Regions from separate parts of the Homo sapiens genome. Here all the other regions are linked to region 1. Evidence: promoter capture Hi-C in 16 types of primary human blood cells and fetal thymus (Javierre and others, 2016). All regions are on one chromosome and are shown on one strand. The core of a region is centred on a gene start or on the middle of the fragment in contact, and the rest is flanking DNA. Distances in the headings are between cores, read along the strand shown.

What was found. The method cuts DNA at HindIII sites, captures the fragments that hold promoters and counts their contacts. A CHiCAGO score of 5 or more calls a contact.
Region 2: a contact is called between a fragment that was not itself captured here and the fragment with the promoter of TTC32 in region 1, in 15 of 17 cell types (naive CD8 T cells, activated CD4 T cells, total CD8 T cells and 12 more). The highest score is 29.3, in naive CD8 T cells.
Region 3: a contact is called between a fragment that was not itself captured here and the fragment with the promoter of TTC32 in region 1, in 15 of 17 cell types (naive CD8 T cells, total CD4 T cells, total B cells and 12 more). The highest score is 34.2, in naive CD8 T cells.
Region 4: a fragment that was not itself captured here is called in contact with the fragment with the promoter of TTC32 in region 1 in 3 of 17 cell types (naive CD8 T cells, non-activated CD4 T cells and total CD4 T cells); the score reaches 8.1 in naive CD8 T cells.
Region 5: a contact is called between a fragment that was not itself captured here and the fragment with the promoter of TTC32 in region 1, in 1 of 17 cell types (activated CD4 T cells). The highest score is 6.3, in activated CD4 T cells.

Annotation. Positions count from the first base shown.
Region 1 is chr2:19,900,705-19,903,261 of GRCh38, reverse strand. TTC32 (tetratricopeptide repeat domain 32) reads left to right here and starts at 1,279. Exons shown (of 3, transcript NM_001008237.3): 1 at 1,279-1,556. The coding sequence starts at 1,408. RefSeq lists enhancers at 927-1,166, 556-1,436, 1,617-1,716, 1,797-1,856, 1,997-2,186 and 1 more. The HindIII fragment of the contact is 3,134 bases long and covers 154-2,557 here.
Region 2 is chr2:18,549,359-18,551,915 of GRCh38, reverse strand. No RefSeq gene overlaps it. Among named protein-coding and RNA genes, the nearest start is that of RDH14, 10 kb to the left of the region's middle. RefSeq lists an enhancer at 1,099-1,393. The HindIII fragment of the contact is 1,958 bases long and covers 295-2,252 here.
Region 3 is chr2:18,567,107-18,569,663 of GRCh38, reverse strand. The region is part of intron 9 of NT5C1B-RDH14 (NT5C1B-RDH14 readthrough); the gene reads left to right. The region is part of intron 8 of NT5C1B (5'-nucleotidase, cytosolic IB); the gene reads left to right. All of the region lies in intron 2 of LOC105373456 (a long non-coding RNA gene), which reads right to left. Among named protein-coding and RNA genes, the nearest start is that of RDH14, 7.7 kb to the right of the region's middle. The HindIII fragment of the contact is 3,270 bases long and covers 1-2,557 here.
Region 4 is chr2:18,589,548-18,592,104 of GRCh38, reverse strand. All of the region lies in intron 2 of LOC105373456 (a long non-coding RNA gene), which reads right to left. NT5C1B-RDH14 (NT5C1B-RDH14 readthrough) reads left to right here and starts at 2,536. Exons shown (of 11, transcript NM_001199104.2): 1 at 2,536-2,557. It overlaps NT5C1B (5'-nucleotidase, cytosolic IB), which reads left to right and starts at 2,536. Exons shown (of 9, transcript NM_033253.4): 1 at 2,536-2,557. The HindIII fragment of the contact is 777 bases long and covers 892-1,668 here.
Region 5 is chr2:18,607,345-18,609,901 of GRCh38, reverse strand. The region is part of intron 2 of LOC105373456 (a long non-coding RNA gene); the gene reads right to left. Among named protein-coding and RNA genes, the nearest start is that of NT5C1B-RDH14, 19 kb to the right of the region's middle. The HindIII fragment of the contact is 2,919 bases long and covers 1-2,557 here.

The DNA of each region.
Region 1 (2,557 bases), core at 30-2,529:
CATCTTGTCTTCCCTTTGCTGTTGCTTCCCCCAACACACTTGGTTTTGTTCTATCCTGTACTTCAGATTTGTTTTTTGTTTTGTTTTTTTCATATTGAAAAGATGACATTGCTCCAAGAGGCAAAAATAAATGGGAACTGAAAAAAAAAAGCTTTTTATCTTATTTATTTAATCTTTTAATTCACCTGGAATGAATATTATGTCAATTGGGAGCTTAAATGCTTAAATGTATTTTTCCCCAAATGGTTAACTAATCCTCCCAATAGCACTCATTTGAATAATCTGTCCTTTCCCCATATATGTTACATGTCTTTTACAAAATACAGCCTATTTGAGGTATGTTTCTGGGCTTTTGTTCTATTGAGCTGTCCATTTGCTTACACCAGAAATGCCAGTTTATTTTTTTGTAGTCTTGCAATCTTTTAATTTCTACTAGTGCTTTTTAATTTAACCTTAATCCACTGTATTTGTATTTTTTTCAGTGGTGGTAAAAGGAAAAAATTAAAAATCTAATGAAAGCAGCCAAAAGCACACAATTTATGTCCTGTTAAGACTTCCGCATGTAAGTATCATGCTCCAAATATATTTTTCATCTTTACTTTTTATGACGGAAAGGGCTCAAGTACTTTGGGAAGCAAAACAGAATCGAGGGACGCCGAGAAGATACACAGCAGGCATGTAGGGTAGCGTGGTTGGCAACTGTTCTTACAAAATTTTAATTTGAATTATACGTAATGTACGTAATAAATTACTATTTGGATTTCCCTTTGGCATAAACAGCCAGGGAATATAACTAACATCAAAGATCCCAGACTCTCGACACAATATACTACTAATCGTAACACAATTCTAGAGGGTCAAAAAAGGTAGAGAAGTTTGGACCGTGGAACAGACCTGGTGGAATGTCGACACAAAGCGTTTCAGGGTAGACAAAGCCTACTCAGAACACCCTAAACGCGGAGTTTTGCTAAGTTGGGACGCTAAAAGGCAAGGGAATGACAGGACGTCCGCAGGCTAATTCGCCATTAAGAAACAGAACCGCGGCTTCTTCCACCTCCAGCGTCATCGGCCCCCAATTCGCTGTAACAAACGGATAGTGTCTCGCAGCATCAGACAACGGACTTGGAAATCAGTTTGCGACCACGCATCTGCGCCTTTTCTAGGAAAAGAGGAAGGCGGGTCCAACACTGGTAACGGCAGAAACATAGTTCACAAGGGCCACTGCAAACGCCCCGCCAGCAGCGGAACCGTTATCTCGCGAGACGACGGATCCCCATAAGGCACAAACCTAGCGCCAAGGTTGGCTGTCAAGGTAGATTCCAGGGTGTGGAAGTGGCTTTGTGGTGCCACCTCTAACCGCTCGGAGGTCAACCCCCATTCTACACCGAAAACTAGGCCTTGGCTGCTATGGAAGGACAGCGGCAAGAAAGCCACGCAACCCTAACACTCGCCCAGGCTCATTTCAACAATGGAGAGTACGCGGAGGCCGAGGCACTGTACTCCGCTTACATTCGCCGGTGCGCTTGCGCGGCCTCCAGCGACGAGAGTCCCGGGAGGTAACTATCGCGAGACCTGGGGCCGCGGCGACCCCGGGTGGAGGCGACGTTGGGGTTGTTTGGGCTCCTATCTTTGCCTCTGGAGCTCACGGTCGGCGCTTGTCATAACCCAGCACTAGGACTGAGCGGGCGGACGTTCGTCTTTCTAGAAAGGCCTAGGCGAGGCCTAGGACGAGGGCGGCGGAGAACGCGGGGAGAAGCCCACCCGTGAGGAGCCAGCTGCCGCGACGGTGCGGAGAGATTTCCGGGAACCAAGCCCTCTGCGCGATCCTCGGGCGCGGGCCGCCGCCTCTCACCCCGCCGTCTCTCCTTCCACGTTCCTCATTCGCACCCAGAGACTTAGGACAGATAGGAATTTTCCACTCGTGATTTTAGCTGGCGGGAAATCCGCGACCTGGGAAGGGAAGGGGTCACGGCTGCGTAGGGCCACAGTACCGCGACTCCCATCTCAGTGTCACGGCGCAGGCTCTTGGTGGTGTTTTTCACTTGTGAAAAACGTTTAAATATGTGGAAGAGAGCATAACGAACGTCTAGGTGTTTATCACTTGGCTTAAGCATTATCAGTTTACCTATTGTATTCATCCATGGATGTTTCAGAAGGAACCACCATGTCATCATCACATAGTTACTTAATATCAAGTCGTCAGTGTTGGAACCATTCTGATCGACTAATAAGGTGTTTTGTTCTTTGGTTCCCTTTTCGCAGTTAGTTCAAGTCAGGATACACATCAAGTCTTTTTAAGTCTCTTCTCCACCTTCCCCTCTTTATTTGTTGAGGAAACCGATTCTTGTGTCCTTTGAATTTCCGTGTTTTGGACTTGCTGACTGAATCTCTTCTGTCGTTTAATGTGGTCATCTGTCTCATATTGCTGTGAATTGGTGGTTAAACCTTGAGGTTTGATCCAATTGAATTCAGATTCAATATCATGGCAAGAATACTTTTTAGGTGGGTGTGTGTACTTTCACCAGGAAGCACATAACGATTCGCTGACTTTCTCTTT
Region 2 (2,557 bases), core at 24-2,523, 1.4 Mb after region 1:
TCTGCCTTCAACTCCCTCCCCCTGACAAACTTGCTGGGCCTGGCCAGAGATCTGAGGGACTCTGTATTTGAATATTTAATTGATTCCAAATGTCCTATGGAACACTGAAGAGAGAACATGTTACTAATCACCCTTCAGGAGCTTGGCCCCCACAGACAGGTTCAGATGTTCCACAAGCCTTCTCTGGGCGATGGGGAGTTAAATTAGTTACAGGCTAACATGGAGAAAGGTAGTTTATTCCTAGAGGAAACTAAGACGGAATGCTTAGTTTTATGCAGACAGTAAGGAAAAGCTTTTGCTAAGCCAGATGTGTAATCAAAGTGCAGTGGAAGCACTTTTAAGCAACTACCATCTAAGAGATTTGCTGTAATAACTGATTCTCCATTCTTTTTTTCTAAAAAAAAAAAAAAAAACTAATGCACATAGCATGTGAAACTCTAGGCTGATAGGCTTTCTTCTAGCACACAACAGCCCTTCTGCTTCCTCTTGTTCTATTATATACTTAAGAGTGAGTTGTGTACCATTTGTTATTCACTTAGCAAATATTTATTGAGTACCTATTATGTAACCGGGCATTATTCTAGTTCTGGGCATGCAGGAGGCAACAAAGAAAACCCAACCCAATTTGTGCATGCATATGTCAACTGTGCTGGTTAATAATCACATTACAAATTATTAATCATACTGCAAGTCAATGAAATGTGAGTACAAAGAATTTATATGAAAAGTAGAAAAGTAGTTTTGTAAAAACTAAATGAAAGCAAGTCACTAAAAATTTACTGTTGACTAAAGTTTCAAAGCAACTATCAAATACTAAAAATAAATACAAAATTATAAAAGGAGTCTGTAGTTAGTGCTTTGCAAGTAACTTTAAACTTTGAGTCCATTTTAAGGGCAAAAAAGCTAGAAATCCGACTCTACTATTTAAGTGAATACAGGAATACCACAGAGATACTTCTGATTTTGTTCCAGATCACCACAATAAAGCAAATATTAAAGTGAGTTACACAAACTTTTTTGTTTCTCCATGCGTGTAAAAGTTATGTTTATACTATACTGTTGTCTATTAGGTGTATAAGACCATTATGTCTAAAAAACAATGTACATACCTTAATTTAAAAATACGTTTTTTGCTCAAAAACCTCTAACAATTATCTGAGCCATCAGTGAGTCATTATATTTTTTCTGGTGGAGGGTCTCACCTCGATGGCTGCTGACTTCAGGGTGGTGGTTGCTGAAGGCTGGGTTGGCTGGAGCAATGTCTGAAAATACAACAACAATGCAGGTTGCCAAATTGATAAGACTGTTCCTTCCATGAAATATTTATCTGTAGCATGTGGTGGTATTTACCCACAGTAGAACTTCCTTCAAAATTGAAGTCAATCCTATCAAACCCTATTGCTGCCTTCTCAACTAAGTTTATGTAATATTCCAAATCCTTTGCTTTCATTTCAGAAATGTTCACAACCTCTTCACCAGGAGTAGAGTCCATCTCCAGAAACCCACTTTCTTTGTTCATCCCTAAGAAACAATTCCTTATGTCTTTAAGTTTTATCATGAGATTGCAGCAGTTCACTCACATCTTTAGGCTCCACTTCCAATTATCTTGTGATTTTTACCTCATCTGTGTTTACTTCCTCCAAAGAAGGTTTGAACCCTCAAAGTCATCCATGAGGGTTGGACTCAGATTTTTTCAAATTTCTGTTAATGTTGATATTTTGACCTTCTCCTTTGAATTATGAATGTTCTTAATGGCATCTAGAATGGTTAATACTTTCGCAGAAGATTGTCAATTTATTTTGCCCAGATCCATCGGAGGAATAACTGTGGCAGCTTTAGCCCTAGGAAATGTTATTTCTTAAATAATAAGACTTTAAAGTCAAAATTACTCCTTAATCCATGGGCTGCAGACTAGATGTATCAGCAGACATGAAAACATTAATCGTTTTATACATCTCCATCAGAGTTCTTGGGTGACTATGTGCATTGTCAATGAGCAGTAATATTTTGAAAGGCATCTTTTCTAAGCAATAGGTCTTAACAGTGGACTTAAAATTTCAGTAAACCATGCTGTAAACAGATGTGCTGTCATCCAGACCTTGTTGTTCCCCTTATAGCACATAGGCAGAGTAGATTAAACATAATTCTTACAGGCCCTAGAATTTTTAGTATGGTAAATGTGCATTGACTTCAACTTAAAGTCACCAGCTGCATTAGCCCCAAACAAGAGAGTCAGACTGTCCTTTGAAGCTTTGTTTCCATGCATTGACTTCTCTCTAGCTATAAAAGCCTCAGATCGCATCTTCTTCCAATGGAAAGCTATTTTGTCTGCATTAAAAATCCGTTGCTTAGTGTATTAGTCCATTTTCATGCTGCTGATAAAGACGTACCCAAGGCTGGGCAATTTATAAAGAAAAAGAAGTTTAATGGACTCACAGTTCCACGTGGCTGGGGAGGCCTAACAATCATAGCAGAAGGTGAAAGGCATATCTTACATGGCTGCAGGGAAGAGAGAAAATGAGAGACAAGCAAAAGAGGTTTCCCCTTATAAACCCAC
Region 3 (2,557 bases), core at 22-2,521, 1.3 Mb after region 1:
ATTATTATATTGTCTTAATCTTAATTAATATCTTTTCATTATGTAATATTCATCTGATACTCATATAATCACTCCAGCTTTTTTGGGGGGGCTAATGTTTGTATGATATGATTTTTCTATACTTTTATCTATGTCTTTATATTTAAATTGTGTTTATATTTAACTTATTTTTCTTATAGATATTACAGTTGGTGCTGCTATTTTATACAATCTGGCAATCCCTGTGTTTTAATTGCTGTTTTTAGGACATTTAAATTTAATGTGATCATTGCTTTGGTTGGATTAAAATCTACTATCTTCCTATGTTTTTTCTGTGTTCCAACTGTTCTTAGTCCCCTTTTTCTTTTCTTTTTTCCCCTATTTACTTACAGACTTATTGTGTGTTTTTACGTTCCATTTTATCTCCACTATTGGCTTATGACTCATTTAAAATTTTTTATTAGTTACGCTAGTGTTTACAATATACAACTTTAAGTAATCACAGTCTATTGTCAATGTTATACTCTACAACATCATATGTACTGTAAGAACCTTGCAACAACGAACTGCCAAACTCTGCCTCTCATGTTTTGTGCTACAGTTGTCATATATTATTTTATCTATTCTATAAACTCTCTATACTTTGCTACTGTGAACCTCAAAAATCTGAAACAGGTCTCAGTTAATTTAGAAAGTTTATTTTGACAAGGTTGAGGATACGCATGCATGGCACAGCCTCAGGAGGATCTGACGACATGTGCCCAAGGTGGTCAGAGCACAGTTTGGTTTTATTCATTTAAGGGAGATATGAGATATTAATCAACATATGTAACATGAACATTGGTTCGGTCTGGAAAGGCAGGACAGCTTGAAGCAAAGGTAGGAAGACTCCAAGCGGGTTTGAGTTTCTGATTAGCCTCTCCAAAGGAGGCAATCAGATATGTAGTTATCTCAGTGAGCATAGGGGTGACTTTGAATAGAATGGGAGGCAGGTTGTCTCTAAGCTGTTACAGGCTTGACTTTTCCCTTTAGCTTAGTGACCTGGGGACTGCAACATTTATTTTTCTTTTCCACTACTATTTCTGTTTTTGGCAATTAAATACCGTCTAGTAAATAAGGATGAGGCAAAAATATGTATTTCATATTCAAATTCCTTTTAATCATTTTCAGAGATCTTCCTTTCTTTGTGTAGATCAGGTTTTTCTCTGTTATCATATTCCTTCTGCCAGGAGATCTTTTGTTTTATTTTGTTTTGTTTAACATTTCATGTCGTACAAATCTACTGGTACTGAATCTCTGTTTTTCTTTGCCTAAAAAGTTTTAATCTTATTTAGTTTTTAAAACAATATTTTATTTTTACTGAATGTAGTATTCTGGGTTTACTGTGTGTTTCTCCCAGCACTTTAAAGATGCTCTTCCATTGTCTTCTCATTTGTATAGATTTTGATGACAAATGTTATGAATTTTGTATCTTTGGTCCTTAGTATGTAATGTGTCTGTTTTTGTCTGGCTGCCTTCATAATTGTCTATATTTCCTTTGGTTTGAATATGAGAGGGGAGTGTGTGTGTGTGTGTGTGTGTGTGTGTGTGTGTGTGTCCCACAGCATTTCAATGCTCTGCTCTTTTTTCCCCACTCTTTTTTTCTCTTTCTCTTTTCAGTTTGGGCAATTTCTATTGACCTGTCTTCAAGTTCACTCATTATTTCTTCAGCTGTGTTGAGTCTACTGACACATCCATTAGGCACTCTTTATATAGTTCCATTCAACTCTTTTCATTTCAATCTCTTTGCCAAAATTGCTAGTCTACTCATGTATGGTATCCACCTTTAAAGTAGACATTTAAAGATATTAATCACAGTTATTTTCAATTCCCTCTGTTATATTTGTGACACTTGGGTCATTACTAAGTCTAGTTCTTTTAATTTCTCCTAAAAGTAGATTGTTCATTTTGTTTTGTTCTGTTTTACTGTGGGACTAGCAATTATTGTGATAGATTGAATCAATCAAATCAGGTATTAAAGTTGTTTTAGGTTTTGTGGTTGCTATGGTTATCTTCATGGCACCACAGGATCCAAGTTTGTCTGGTATCAACTTTGTTCTTAGGGTGCAAACTGGCTTACCAGAGGGTTTTTCTCAAGATTTCTAGTCGACTTTCAGCAGCAGGCCTTCCCTGTGTGTCTGCTGCAGAGAAGGTCTCCTCATTCTTACCCCTTCCCAGCTATTTCTTCTATCTTCCTAGGGCTTAGGGATGAACATCCTGGATCTTGCCATGCCCCAGTGATAGCCAATATCTAATGGTACCAATCCTTGATAGTCTCTTATTCTCCCAAAGTTAGAATGTTTTCTTCTGTAACAGTGGATCTTTACTCATGCCCTGGAGGATAACAGTGTTTGAAGCTCTTCTAGCAGTCTAGGCTCTTTGTTCCTGAGGGTATAAGCAACTAGGGGGAGTTTTAGTCTTTGCCCCCAGTGGCAGCTGCTCCCCTCCTCCACACCTGTACCATCAAGGATGGCTTTATTCTATCACCCCACTGCCTGCAGTCTTTGTCATCAGCATCTAGTGAAGTCCATGGAGAAAA
Region 4 (2,557 bases), core at 31-2,530, 1.3 Mb after region 1:
ACAAAAATTAGCCAGGCATGGTGGTACATGCCTGAAATCCCAGCTACTTGGGAGGCTGAGGCAGGAGAATCGCTTAAACCTGGGAAGTGGAGGTTGCAGTGAGCTGAGATCTTGCCATTGCACTCCAGCCTGAGTGACAGAGCAAGACTCTGTCTCAAAAAAAAAAAAAAATTCCACCACTACTGTTACCATAATATTCTGTATCCTGCTTATCACTGTTAAGTAAACGCATTTCTTAAAAGATTCATGTATTTATTCAACAAATATTTATGGAAGTACCTCCTAGTAACTATTCTAGGCAAGAAGAAAGCAGCAGTAGAAAAGATGTATAGGTCGCTTCTCACAAGCAGTTTTCGCTCCAGCGGGACCAGAAAAGACAATAAGCAAATAAACTCTTGTGAAACAAAGTCAGGTTGAAATAAATGTTATGATTGAAAATAAAGGGACATAAGGGTTAAAAGATGAAGGAAATGAGGTATCATTTTTAGTGACAGTCAGAGAAGTCCTCTCTGAGGAGACTGCTTGAGAGCAGAGTTAAAAAAATAAGGAATTAAGGCACGTGTATATATGGGCCGCTGCAGCAGATGGAGCAGCAAATTTAAAAGTCTTGCGACAAGAACATGCTTAACCCATTACATGGCTTGGATATTTGTCCCTTCCAAATCTTATGTTAAAAGATGACTCCCAATGTTGGAGGTGAGGCCTAGTGTGAGGTGTTTGGGTCATGAAGGTCAATCCCTAATGGATGGCTTTGTGCCTTCCCATGGTAATGAGTTACGAGGATATCTGACTGTTCAAAAGAATCTGGGACCTCCTCCCTTCTCTCTTGCTCCTGCTCTTGTCGTGTTACACATTTGCTCCTTCTTTGCCTTCTGTCATGATTGGGAAGCTTCCTGAGGCCTCGCCAGAAGCACATGCCAGCACTATGCTTCCTGTATAGTCTGCAGAACTGTGAGTCACATAAACCTCTGACTCAGGTCAGTTCATGCTTTTGCCTAGGCTTCCAGACTGTGGAGGAAGGGACTCCAGCCCACAGCCCTAGATTTGGGATGTCAGGCTTCCCTAAGTGAAGTCCTACCCATGAAACCTATAACAGAAGCCTCTGCTCTCTCCCTCGAAGGAGTGCTAAGAAGCCATAATGAGTTTATAATCCTGAATAGTAGAAATAAAACACCTAATTACAATGAGATGAAATTCACATTAGCTGCTCTGGCCCCAAACACAGCATACTAAGAAAATAAAGATGCTCTTGGTACTTAGGGGTGTGATTTTAATAGAAAAGGTAAGGTTCTCTGAAGTTACTCTGAAACGTATAGCACTTACAACTTTGATTGTCTACATAACTTATACAAATATTACACAATAACATCATAACCATGCAAAAACAAATGACCCCTGTACAAATTTTGGGTAGAATGCTGGGGGTTGGGTGTACAGTGGGGAGTAGGGGAGAGATGAAATAACTTAAACCCAGGCACTCTTACCTACAGCCTGAATGTTTTACTAACTAAAAGACTCCTTGGATAACTTAAATTAAAACCATCAACAACTTCCGATATTCAACCTTAGCTATCAACTTGTCCCATGAAAACAGGCTGGAAACCTGCCTCAGTCCTTGATGATTTCACCAGCTCAGGTTGGCATGGCACATGTCTCCTATCTAAAGCTTGGGTGAAGATAAAAGGAGAAAACTAAAATGGAGAACATGTTTAGATTCTGTAAACCAGAGTTAGGGGCTACTTTTTACAAATATCAATTCTATTTGTAACTGTATGTTTCCTGTTACTTGCCAAAATGAATCACAAACTCATTTGTGGACCCAATCATTTATCCATGTTCACTCTCCCAGACTTTGGGGGGCTTTCCTCAGATCTGGAAACTATTTTTGACAGCTGAGATTTTGTTCTAGACATGGAGTTTAGACTTGAGTTTGAGTTTAGCTTTAGTGTTTAAAGGGTTAAGGATGGGGCAGCCCAGGGTTAAGGGTTAAGGATGGGGCAGCAAAGGTAACATTCTACACTGAGTCTAGCCATGGGGAAGGGGCTTTGACAGTGTCTTCCTCAACAGGTTTTGCCATTGAAAGAAACATGAGACATTAAAGCTAAACTCAAACTCAAGTCTAAACTCCATGTCTGGAACAAAATCCCAGCTGTCAAAAATAGTCTCTAGATCTGAGAAAAGCCCTCCAAAGTCTGTCTGGCAGAATGAACATGGATAAATGATTGGATCCACAAATGACTTTGCCATTCATTTTGGCAGTACCAGGAAACAGACAGTCACAAATGGGATTAATATAATGAATGGCAGAGAAATGCTTAAAAAGATTTAAAAAGGAAGTGGTAATATTGATATTGCTACATATTGAACATTTGAACAATGTTTAGACATCAATTTCTGAAAACAAAGACAATGGCTATGAGCAGATACACTCAAAATGAAGAAACATTTATTTTTTGTTTTTTAAGAAAAGGTTAATCACATATTCATAGAGTCAGTTTGTTACTATGGAATCACATATGATGTCATAAATTTGACATTCTAAATGCAAAGCTAGACT
Region 5 (2,557 bases), core at 36-2,535, 1.3 Mb after region 1:
TCATGCAAAATGTGTTTTGTCTCTAGACTTCTGCAGGATTGAGCTGATGAAACTCGTCTTCTGGTGCTGTCTACTTCTCCCAGACCAAAGCTATCTTTGAAGTGTTCACTCTTGGCCTGCTGTCCATACTAAAAAATTCGCCTGTAGAGAGGAGGAAAAAGGCTTTTATCAGAAAATACTTTAAAAGCCTATACAGTGATTTTAAAATGACCTTTAGCAGGAACTGAGAGACTCTTTTCCTAGCAAGCTGGAATTTCATCTCACCCAAACCATACCTTTGTAAATAAGATCAAAGTAAGACGTAGAGGACCACACAATTCATATTTACCAAAACTTGTATGACCCATGCTAATTAACAATCCCAGCTGCACAACCTCATTACACACCATCCAAACTGCCAAGATGAAAGGTCAAAGACTGCAAGATCTACACAACAAAAGCTGTAATGCCTTAAGGCAATGCTGGCAGTACCCAAAATTTCACTCTCCTCATGGTATTTGGTCTCTAAATGCCAGTCCTTCTAGCTAGTCTTCTAAATGCCAGTCCTTCTAACTATTCTTGGACAGTGAGCTTGTATTGCCGGTTTTACCTTGAGATAATTTGAGTTTGGAACTAGTTAAGAATTAAACATGAATGTCAGAAAGGTAAAGACCAGATATCAGATGTATTACTTAAAATCACTAGATAGGAGGGTATAAATTAAATGAAGTCACAATGAGCTCCTTAATATTGTCTTCAATTTTCAACATACTCATTAGCAGAATGAACAACTGCAGGCATGCCCAGCCAGGCAGAGTCTACCCTGGTAAGCTAACCACATGGCAAAAGTGCCTTCTGATGGATAGTTAGATCTGAAAGAAACAGAATTTAGAAGGAATTAACTCATACTTCCTGCTTTCAATCTTATCCATCAGATAAGTCAGATCTATCCCAAGGGGAAGAAGTGAGTAGAGGCAGGGAGGGCAAAAAAGACTAGCGGGGGGTCCCTGTGGCCAGAAGACGGAAACATAAAGCATAGAGTACATAGGCTTCCACAAGACTGGCAACAAGCAGCTCATGTCTTAAAGATACTTTGATCTTTCGATCAGGTAACTGCGCTTCCAGAAATAAATCCAAAGAAAATACCCAGTGATTCAAACAATTATGTACCAATATCCTCATTTTAACATTAGAACAGGAAAATACAAAACAAAACAAAAAGGAAAAAGAATATTATATCTTTATTAAAATGTTTCATAAATGCTTTTAATGAAATAAAATGGATACATGTTGTCATGATAAATTTCTAAAGGCAATAAAATTACATTATGACATAATCCCAACCTATTTTTAAAAGTTTTTCCACAAAAAAAACAGATAAAAAACATTATAGGCTTATTTTTAAAATATTATTATGTATTTTCTAAATGTTCTATAAAAAACATATATCATTTATATAATCAGGAAATAGTTTTATTTATCAAATTCCCCAGCTTACCCAATCTACTATGTTTATTATGTATATTAGTTTAATAAAATAAAGAATTTCATATTTAGGCATCAGTCTTCAATCATGCATTAAATAAAAACAAATGTTCTAAACATGTATAGCAAATTACCATATAGATAACAAATATCTATGTCTATATGAATATTCTCATTTTTCCACAATATAAAAGATAAAATACATATTTTTATTCTATTGATGCAATTCTCCTAAAAAAGAGGACAAATAACTAATATATCTATTGATTTCAGTGAACGTAATTAGTAATCAAATTATTGCCTTTGAACAACACAGCAATATCAACTTTTAATTATTCATGATTAGGGTTGCCAGATAAAATAAAGTATGTCCAATCACATTTGAATTTCAGATAATCAATATTTTTAAAATTATAAATGTGTCCTTTGCAATTTTTTAGAAGATCTATGTAATATTTGGAACATATTTGTACTAAGAAATTATCCATTTTTTATCTGAAGTACCAAATTTAACTGGCTATCATGTATTTTTATTTACTCAATCTAGCAACCCTATTCGTGATGTCATTTTTAAAAGCCACATTCTCTGCTCTGAATATCCATCACTCTAGTTCCAGCAGGGGCTAGAACAACTGAATTTACCAGAAACCAGTTCATCAAGCTAAGACTAGAGCTTTCTAATTCAGAGGGAAACACTCCCAGGGAGGACACTTAAAGAGATGCCAGGCTTGTAAAATTAGCTGTATATGCTCCATGTTAATTGCCTTTGCAGGCCTCTTCCTGTCCCTATCCTTGTTGCACAGTCCCAAATAAAACAAGAGCAGCAGGGAATCTAAGCGCCCTCATTTCCAAAGCAATCCTAATGAAATATGTGGGAGCCCAGAAATCCTCTCCCACTCTGAGAGCAGACCCAGCTGTATGGCTGCACAGTGAATAAAATGGAAAAGAGTTGAAGAGACTCTAGGAATATGACTTTCCAGCAAAAGGAAACCAGCAGAAACAAGATCTTTAGATAGAGACATTCTTTGCAGTGAGAAATAAGGAAAATAGGAGGTGAGTGGCATCCAGGAGGTAGCCAGATTATGCAGAAGGT